Regions from separate parts of the Homo sapiens genome. Here region 2 is linked to region 1. The links are contacts of gene promoters, found by promoter capture Hi-C in blood cells and fetal thymus (Javierre and others, 2016). All regions are on one chromosome and are shown on one strand. Each heading gives the region's core, a stretch centred on a gene start or on the middle of the fragment in contact. The rest is flanking DNA. Distances are from core to core; before and after follow the strand shown.

Evidence for each region. Contacts are between HindIII fragments. The CHiCAGO score rates a contact against its expected background, and 5 or more counts as called.
Region 2: a fragment that was not itself captured here is called in contact with the fragment with the promoter of LEKR1 in region 1 in 1 of 17 cell types (non-activated CD4 T cells); the score reaches 5.2 in non-activated CD4 T cells.

The regions. Positions count from the first base shown.
Region 1 is chr3:156,824,760-156,829,509 of GRCh38, forward strand. LEKR1 (leucine, glutamate and lysine rich 1) reads left to right here and starts at 1,594. Exons shown (of 13, transcript NM_001004316.3): 1 at 1,594-1,617; 2 at 4,527-4,618. The coding sequence starts at 4,571. RefSeq lists an enhancer at 2,067-2,126 and a silencer at 2,441-2,735. The HindIII fragment of the contact is 11,302 bases long and covers 1-4,750 here.
Region 2 is chr3:156,741,898-156,746,701 of GRCh38, forward strand. No RefSeq gene overlaps it. Among named protein-coding and RNA genes, the nearest start is that of TIPARP-AS1, 69 kb to the left of the region's middle. The HindIII fragment of the contact is 766 bases long and covers 2,808-3,573 here.

The DNA of each region.
Region 1 (4,750 bases), core at 344-2,843:
AGCAGTCCTACCCTCACTATCTCTCAGATAAATATGACGAGGATGAATAGCTCTGAAAGTTATTTGGGCTTCTCATAAGCATGTTATAGTTGACCACTTGGTTGACTGTCCTCTAGGCCTCTTAATCCTTTCTTCTTTGAGGGAGTGGAAACAGAAAATCAAGGGTAGGCATTGGGGCAAAAATATCAGTCAGGTTAAATGTACAAGATACATCTACTAGACTTTTTTTTTTTTTTTTTTTTTTGAGACTGAGTCTTGGTCTGTCGCCCAGGCTGGAGTGCAGTGGCATTATCTCGGCTCAGGGTAAGCTCTGCCTCCCAGGTTCACGCCATTCTCCTGCCTCAGCCTCCCGAGTAGCCCAAGTAGCTGGGACTACAGGCGCCCGCCACCACGCCCGGCTACTTTTTTGTATTTTTAGTAGAGACGGGGTTTCACCGTGTTAGCCAGGATGATCTCGATCTCCTGACCTTGTGATCTGCCCGCCTTGGCCTCCCAAAGTGCTGGAATTACAGGCCCGAGCCACCGCGCCCAGCCACATCTACTAGACTTTTTAGTGCCAAGGAACAAGGCACTAGTGTTCAGTACTTCCTGGTGTCATTAATTAGTAGTTATCAATAAGCAGTTTGGTGTACCGATACTGCTCTGCGTCATTTAATCACTTCTCTAAATCTATAGGTTCAATTAATTTTCTTTGTATTTACTTAATCTTATTTTATTCAATAGCAAACCAGTCTCTTTGCCTGCTACAGAGCCATCGATGTTTTCTTTGGTTCTTGGAAGAACTGTACTTCGACCTTATATAATCCTCAGAAAGGCAAGATCTGGACTACGAATGAGTCACCTGCTAATTACACCAATGGCTGCTCCTGCCTTGACCAGTCACAGAGTATCACCCTATCTCGGTATGCTGCTCTGCTTGTCGCGTAGTAGGTCTATAAATACTTGTTTTATGAATGAATGTATGAACAAAGGGAAGTTAGTCACGTGTAAGGGTGGGTAGCCTGCGATAAATAAAGTGTAGACTAGGAGGTCTCAAAATACTTTTTGAACTAAGCCCTTAATCTTCACTACTTTGGACTAGAATGGAAATGTCACCAACGCCTTCCCAATTAATTTGTCCTGGCTGTAATGACTGAAACCAGAACTTCCCTTTACACCCATGACCTCTACAGGCATCTCTTTTTCCTCTGCTCAAGAACAGTAACTGCTCACTGCTGTGTCTACCACATAGGCCCCAGAGCAAGGGGTGATAGGTAGGGCTATAGGCTCCCGACTCCCGACTCCCGGCAGTGCCTCTCTCCAACCCCCCACGAGGCTGGGACAGCTCCCTCCATCTCAGCAGTCGCTACCAAGCACCCGACCCACTCTCGCCCACCTCATCCCTCGATCCCCTTCCCTCCCTCTCACAGCATTCCGCGTAAGACTAGCCCAGCCTTCCGAGCCCCACCACCAGTTTTCCCACTTCCGCCCGGCGCGTGAGACCCTGGGCGGTGCAGGGGAGCGTTGACGACAGACGTGGGCCGTGACGTCGCCGCGCCCTGACGTCCAGCCGACTGGCGGCGCGGTCGCCCGGGAGACCGGGAAAGCCGTTTCACACCCGTCCTAGTCGAAGTCGAGGTGAGGGACGATGGCTTTCCTCAGCCTGGGATGACCCGGTCCTCCAAATGCAGTTCCGGAGTGGAGGCGTGCTCGCACCCGGGGAGAGAGCCAGAAAGCTGAGCCGCGGCGCCCCAGCGAGAGCACGAGGCCCCGGGTCTGGACTCCGCCACCACGCTCCTCTGCGGCCCCTTCCTGGTGTCTGCCAGCCCGCGGGGCCCAGGCGCGGTCCGCCTTCCTCCCAGCCCCGGGGAACGCGCGGCTCTGCTTCCTCACCCCCGCACCCTCCTCCTCCTCCTCTTCCGGCCACTGCAGGTCCAGGGGGAACGGGGTTAGAAAGGGACAGATTTGAAAGCCATTCCAGCAGTTTTGTCTGGCCTTGCGGTTGGTTTCTGTGTGGAAGAGCCTGCCGCTTCAGGAAAGTCTTAGGATGTGAACTCCCGCCTTCACCTGCCCCTGACCTGCTCGTTGTGGGTGATTCACGCCATGGGAATGGTTCTTTACGTAAGGGCTTGAAAGCTGAACGTGAGTTAATGGCCTGACGTGACACTAGTGTGAGAAACGGAATTGGAAACGAACAAGGACGTGTCTGCATTTTAAAAAATGTCTTTTCGGTGATCTTGTTAGAGAGGAGGTTCACAAACACCCACGTAGCTGCAGCCACTTATCACTGCACCTCTTGCCAAAGTGCGGTCCACATACGTGCAATGAGAAAGGATTAAAGGGACTTGTTTGATAACACACGCAAAACTATGTAAGACTAAATTTAAAAAATTACAGATTTTCCCTGTTGCCAAAAGGGAAAGACCCTTCTTTTTTCTTGAGAAACTTAGTATTTGTGAATGCTTCCTCTATTTAATATGTATGCAAATGTTTTTAAAGACCTAGGAATGCTTTTCTTGAGGACCTGGAAGCCATTTCTTTAAAATGTAAACATCAAGGAAGATAGGGCCCCAGTCTCCTTGTCACTTTGGGAGTTTAACCTAGGTGCGTTATTCCTAATTGTAAACACCTGTTTCGTTATGGAGCTGTGCATTACTTAGGAGGAAAGCCGTTAGCTAACACAGGTGGTTACCCCAATTACCAGATGAATTAAAGAGGAAATATAAAAGAATGTATAGAACACTATGTTAAGCCCTCTTACATGAGGACACGTTACCAGTTTCCTTGAGAATGTGTAATGGATTGTGTCTCCTTGGCTGTATAAAAGAGGGATTTCCTTCTCTCTTTGTAACCTCATTAGCAGATTAGCCGTGATGTGCATCAAAGTCTAGTTGAATGCCTAATAAAATTGTTGTCTTTCTGCATTGTGGAGCATTTTCTGGGTTGGCAGGACTTTTAATTTTTAGTTTCCCCCCGATAATCAGAACCTGCCAATTCCTCCCCTTCTTATGCTAAGGCCATAAAGTTGGAATAGATTCACAGACAATGAAGGCACTACACAAAAACTGTTCTACTGGTGCTTTGTTTATACTGTCATTTAGATCCGTGCTCTCAGATAACTTTATGGGTGAAATTTTAAAAGGATGTTTAGATGGTAATTTTTTGGAAAATTCTCCCAATAGAGTTGAAGTTACTATTTCATTTTACTGATGGCAAATCCACCATTAAATGACAGAAATGAGAATAATGAGCCTTCTGGGCTCTTGCCACATGATTATGACAATCTGCCAAACATCAGATTATGTTTGGGCTTATGTTGACATGGTTAATGGTACCTCCATTGCAGACCTCAGTTAACTTTACCACACATGTCATATTATGTTTTATGTGGGAAGACATAAAGCTCATTAGTTTTTGGTTTTAAACAGCAACTCACTGAAATGAGTCTTTGTGCTAACACAGGGAACAAGGAATCTTCTCTTCCACTAGTGGTTGCACCATTTACAAAGATAATGCCACTATAGGACTTTTTGACAACTACGGTTTCCCTGCTACCTTGCTGTATGGCCGGGGTTGCTCTCTCTGATAGAGTACTTTGCTTCTCCAGTCTCTTGTCAAAATCCTGCCCTGATTGAATACAAGCAACCTCAGGAAGCCTTCACTAACTCCCACCTCTCATCTGAAACATAAGATCTTTTCCTTTCTTGAACTCTTAGACTGCTCTTGTCTATGCCTTCTTCCCTGCTATGGAATTGTGCCTGTATCATCTGACTCTGCTGCCACTGCCCTCGCCCTTCTCCTGACTTCTTAGATATGTATAAACAGCCCTTACTCGTGAGGGAAGGATTTAAAAAAAAAAACAAAAAACCCAAAGTGCTCCTCCATTTATCCTCTGGTTTTATGAAAGTAGTGACTGACCTTTATATTGAATGGCTTTTATTAGAAAAAGAAAATCTGTTAAAAGTAAAATATCTGCATAAAATTATATAAATGTCCATCTTAGATAAAATTGGCACTTGGCTTCTTATTTTTTGATCACTCTTCTGTTCAGTGTTTGCATATCATATTTAATATGGTATCTCTAAATGCTCTTTTTCTGTATTTCATCATTTAATCCAGCATTCATGCCACAATTGCTTTTTTCATCTGCTAAAATACTATATTTTCATACTTTTTCTAGCAGCATTTCAGAAAAATATTTGATTTTTAAAATACACTGAAATGTGTATTTAAAATTTTAGTCATTATGTATTTGAAAAACAATTAGTAGTAAATCACAACAGAAATTATTAGACTATAAAGTTCTAACAAAAGAGAAAATATTCTTTCTAACTTAGCAGTCTCTATAGTTCTCTCCTGTTCTATTGGCCCAATAACTAACGGAGAAAACCCTAACTGTACCTTCTAACATTGAGCTGATGAAATAAGCATCTGTTGAAACAGTTATCACCATTCATCCCCAAATACTTCTAGGAGTTTATAAAGCATCTTAATTTGAATGTTCTCTACATTATTTCTGTTCTGACTGTTGCCATCAATGTTCTTAGATTTCCTTTGGCTTCAAAGCTCTCTCACCATATTTTGGGAAGTTATGGATCATCACATTCCCATGCATGCGTTGCCTGAAGAAATCCAAAAGGTATGATATATTGTGTTGCTACAGCCTAACAGTGGGAACATGTAGCAGTTACATAATTCTAAAACCTAGAGGAGTGAATTCATTAATTTTGGTCATAGGATCTGAATGAATTGGTGGAGTGGGAGAGGGAAT
Region 2 (4,804 bases), core at 1,941-4,440, 81 kb before region 1:
GATCACAGACCAGGGGCAGTTGAGTTTCCCTGGTGAAGCAAACCTTGAAGGTGGGGTCTAGGGGGCAAAGCAAGAGGCTGGGTGCTCTGCTGGGCCCGCTGCCATGGAGGACTGGCACAGCTGGTAGTTCACAGTGATTCTTGGGAATGGATTATTCTCCATTGTCACACTCCGTATCTGGCCCTTGCACATTATTAGGCCAAATGCCAAGCTACTGCCATTCTTAGTGACCTGCACAATCAATCTTTGTGCACAGATGCCTGTGGAGGCTAATGGGAGTGGTAGCTCAGGCCAGGTTCCAGCATCTGCTGCCTCCCCTTGACCTAAACCACTGTCCTGTCCCAGATATGCAAACCCTGTTCCCATCTACCCAAGAGGAAAACAGCTCCTCTTTCTTTTTTTTTTTTTTCTCTCTCTCTCTTCTTCCTTTCCTTTTTAGACCCAGGATAGTAGGGAGAACTCACTGCATACCCACTGTTCTCAGGGAAGCTTGCTGCATTGATTCTAAGGTGGTAGTAGTATCTTGTGCTTCTCTCACTAAAGAACAGAAAAGAAAAAAAAACACAAATTAAATCTCCAGGACATGGTTCTGGTAGAGTACCTGCTCCCCATGTACAGAGGAGAAAGACAAAGAAAAGAGCACCATTGCTCTTAAAGCATTAACCTCAAATTGGCTTTTGGCAGACTTTTTGTAGCCTGAATGTGTCCCCATTCTCAATACCATCTGTTCTCACACACCTGCAACCTTTAAATAGGCCAAACATTCCTATGACAGGTGAAAGATTACCATAAGCAACATAGCCTATGAAGGAAATGTGTTCTTTAAACTCACTGAATTCTGAAACTTACTTATAATTCATAAGGAAAACATCCAAAATGAGTGCATAATAAAAATTATAAAATATGATTGCCTTGTCTCTGTATTAAAGGGAAGATATAGAAGCTGAAAGCTGGGTCAGCCTTTCCTCTATTCCCTCAACTGAATTGCTTTTTCCTTGTGGTTTGGCCAACTTTCAGAAGACTTTTTTTTCCTTTTCCTATTTATTTATTTATTGACAGGGACTCACTCTGTGCCCAGGCTGGAGTGCAGTGGCGCGATTATAGCTCACTGCAGCCTCAAATTCCTGGGCTCAAGCAATCCTCCCACCTCAGCCTCCCAAGTAGCTGGGACCACAGATGTATGCCACCACACCTAGCTTCTATTGGTTCTTAAAGATGAGGTTTTGCTCACTGCACTCAAGGTAACATTTTAATTAGAACTGTGGTGGCAATTTAGGCTATTCATTTCCTCATAACAGAGCCATGAAACAGTATTGTTCCATTGTATTTATGAGAACATTGAGGCACAAAAATTTAGGAAAGTTTCTCCAAGGTTATTACAGATTAATTGACCTAAGATTTTAAGTCATCATGCTGCCCCATATATTTAAGCAGTTCTGCCACTGTTGACTTTCTGATAGGCTATTTTCCTTTAGTTCCTGATGCCAACTCCTTATAATTTTGAGTTATCTGATGGTAGGTTTAGAATGATAAGCATATTAACTGGAAATGTCACTATTTTTTTATAGTGGCTTAACAAAATATATAGGTAAGATGTGCCCAGAATTTTGTCTCAATTTCTATATATTGTTTCAATTATCTTATTGGCAAATCTTATTTCTAATGCTTGTTTTAAATGAGTCCTTACTAGCCTCTTGGAGAAAACATAGAAGGGGGTAATAGTTTTAAGTCACCACATAAAATCCTCTTCTCAATGTTTAACTTTTATATGAAGGGATCTTCTTTCATGCTGTATTTTCATGTATATTACTACTTGGTCTGTGTGTTCTTGAATTATTTTCCTAGTTTGTTATCTTTGTTTCCCTTAGAACCACCAAGATTCCCCTCTTTTTCTACAGGTAGCCAACTGGCTTCTCTCACTGTTTCTTTTTAATTTTATTTTCTTTAGTTCATCCTTTGGTCACAGGCAGCACTAACATCGCACATCCAGAGAGTAAATGTTTGTATTCCCTGAGTGCTTGAATGTCTCAAACATGTAGGCCAGCAATGTAGGTGGGAGCTTGTCATTCTTGGTCACAGGAGTAGGAACTTAAGTTGGCCCTCAGCGGCCCTGTGTGTGGCAGCTCTGGGCAGCACTCATATGCCCGTCTGCTTCCCTAGAAACTGGCAGCACTCTTTTCTTCCCTTTCACCAGAAGCCTCTTCATGCGGCCACTAGGATGTGCTACTTGAGGAATTCAGGGCTTCGCCTCACCTACTTGCTGTCCTTTGACCCAACTTGTGAGAGCTTGCCATCAGCTGACTTCTCTGAGACTCCATTTCATTCTTTTAAATGAAGAAGGTACTTTAAAAATTACCAAATGCCCATGTCTTTTAGACTGTGAAAGGTTTAGAATATAGCACGGAGAGTTAGGGGGAGTGAAGCCATGTGAACCACCTAGAAAGCACAGAAGCTTCGGTAAATTAAGTGCAAACTATTGAAGTGGTGGGGTGATAGAAAACCTGACATTTGGAGAAAGAGAGAAAAAAACTAACATTAGGCTTGACAAGGACCTAGAACCCATCAACTCTAGGTTTTGGTTCCCAAAAGCCTATCTCAGCACTGCTGTCTTAAAATGCCCAGTGGAAGGAAGTGGTGGAAAGAAGACTTTGCTAAAAATGTTAGTTGTGTTAGTCCATTTTGCATTGCTATAAAGGAATACCTGAGACTGGATAATTTATTAAGAAAAGAAGCTTATTGGGCTCAGAGTTCTGCAGGCTGTATAAGAAACATACAGCCAGCATTTGCTTCTGGTGACGGCCTCAGGAAGCTTATATTCATAGCAGAAGGCAAAAGGGGAGCCAGTGTATCACACGCGAGAGAGGAAAGCAAGGGAGAGTTGGGAGAGGTGCTGGGCTCTTTTAACAACCAGCTCTCACGTGAACTAATAGATCATAGATCAAGAACTCACTCGTTACTGTTGGCATGACACCAAGCCATTCATGTGGAATCTGCCCCCATGATCCAAACACCTCCCACTAGGCCCCACCTTCAGCACTGGGGATCACATTGCAACACGAGATTTGGAGGAGACAAATATCTAAACCACGTCACCAGATCTATGGACCACTGGAAATTTAGCCCTCTCTCCAATCCCCATTTTACAGATGAAGCCCAGAACAGGAACATGACTTTTCCAGTATCTATGGCCATTTAATGGCAGAACTAGGATGCAAAATCTCCCAACTTATTGCTCCATCCCTTTTTCTAATACAACACAGAAATAATGTACTAGAACTGTGCTTAAGGGGAAAAAGGTGTTCTACCAACACAATAATAAGAGCTAAAGTACTGAGCAAATGTTCAATGTCAAGGTAAAAGGAGTAGCAAGGATAGGGATATAAAAGGCCAATCACCAGGAATATTGTAGAAGTTTGACTGCATGTTCCCCACTGCCAAGTCTGAGTTTACATGCACACTCAAAAACACCAAGGCCAGGCATTTTACACAGAGAAAAGTAAAATGACCTAGATACGGGGAAAAAAATTGCCTGGCGTATGTTTATAACCCCTGCTTCCTCCTCTTTCCCTTCCAAGCTTTGGACTGGTCCTGAGGTGTAGAGTTTGATGAATTCACTATGAAGATTTAGAGGCCCAGAGCCAAAGACATCATTACAACTCCTGTGTTTCCAACACAGAGCACAAAAGTGAGGGTAAGAATGTGTGATGCAGGTGTTTTTTTGTGTTAGAAAACAAAAATAAAACAAAACAAAAACTCCAGGGAGGCACTGAAGGAAAGAACATTTTAGGTCAAAAATTAGGAAAAACTTGCTAAAACTCAGTCATTTCTCTGACGATCTAGGGAGCTTGTTTCCTTGCCACATTCAGATCTAAAATTTTTTTTTTTTCATAGCAATGCAGTAAGACAGAAACTATCTTTACTCTGCAGAACAAGTTCATGTCGATTTTTTGGATTGTCTGTCTTGCTTCTGTGCTTTAAGAAATTATCTCAGTAAATATAGCAGGCAACAGCATGACTGGCCTTTTCCCTAATTTGATTCAGGCCTCAGCATCACTGCTAGTAAGGAATAGGATCCTTTTCTTTAACCCTTCAGAAGGCACCAGGGCAAATTCCACAGTGCATTCATGAGTCAAGGGACAGTATCTCCATGTGAGAGATATCTGCCTGGCTAGAATTTCTAGATGGCTTTCCCACTATAGGAATCCAAGCAAACCATTGTCATTCTTCCCTCTCTAGCAAGAGAAAAGAGAATCTCAGCCTTTAGAGCATTCGTTCTGGCTCAAGAACATGGGTTTTCTTTCCTGGAAACAAGGACTGGCTCAGTGAGACCTCGAAAGTTGGTGCTTTGTGGTGTTGCCAAAATGCCTGTTTCTGGCAAGCAGTGGGGGTAGGTGCTGCTTGAGGGAATCTTGTTGCCCCTCCGAGTGAAACAACACATTCATTATTTAATAGTTATTCAGCATCGGAGAAATTTTAGCTCAAGAAAAGGCTGAACTTAGAAGACTTCACTAATAAGAGTATTTTAAGAATTATAAACAGAAATCAGACTACACTAAATAGTGTGTTTCTAAGCTGAGTACATGATAAATTACCTAACAGGCTGAAGAGGGAAATAAAGAACTGAGTTGTGGATTCACAGTCTTGTGAATGTGTCTGTAACTGGTAGCACTGGGTGAGCCCATTTGCTGTGCCCTCCAGCCTAAGGCCTCACAAGCACCTCAGCACCTGGATACTCCTAGGACTCCTCTGTTACCAGCCCCATGTGCTGGCAGTCACTGAGGCAATAGTGACATTGACCCAAATA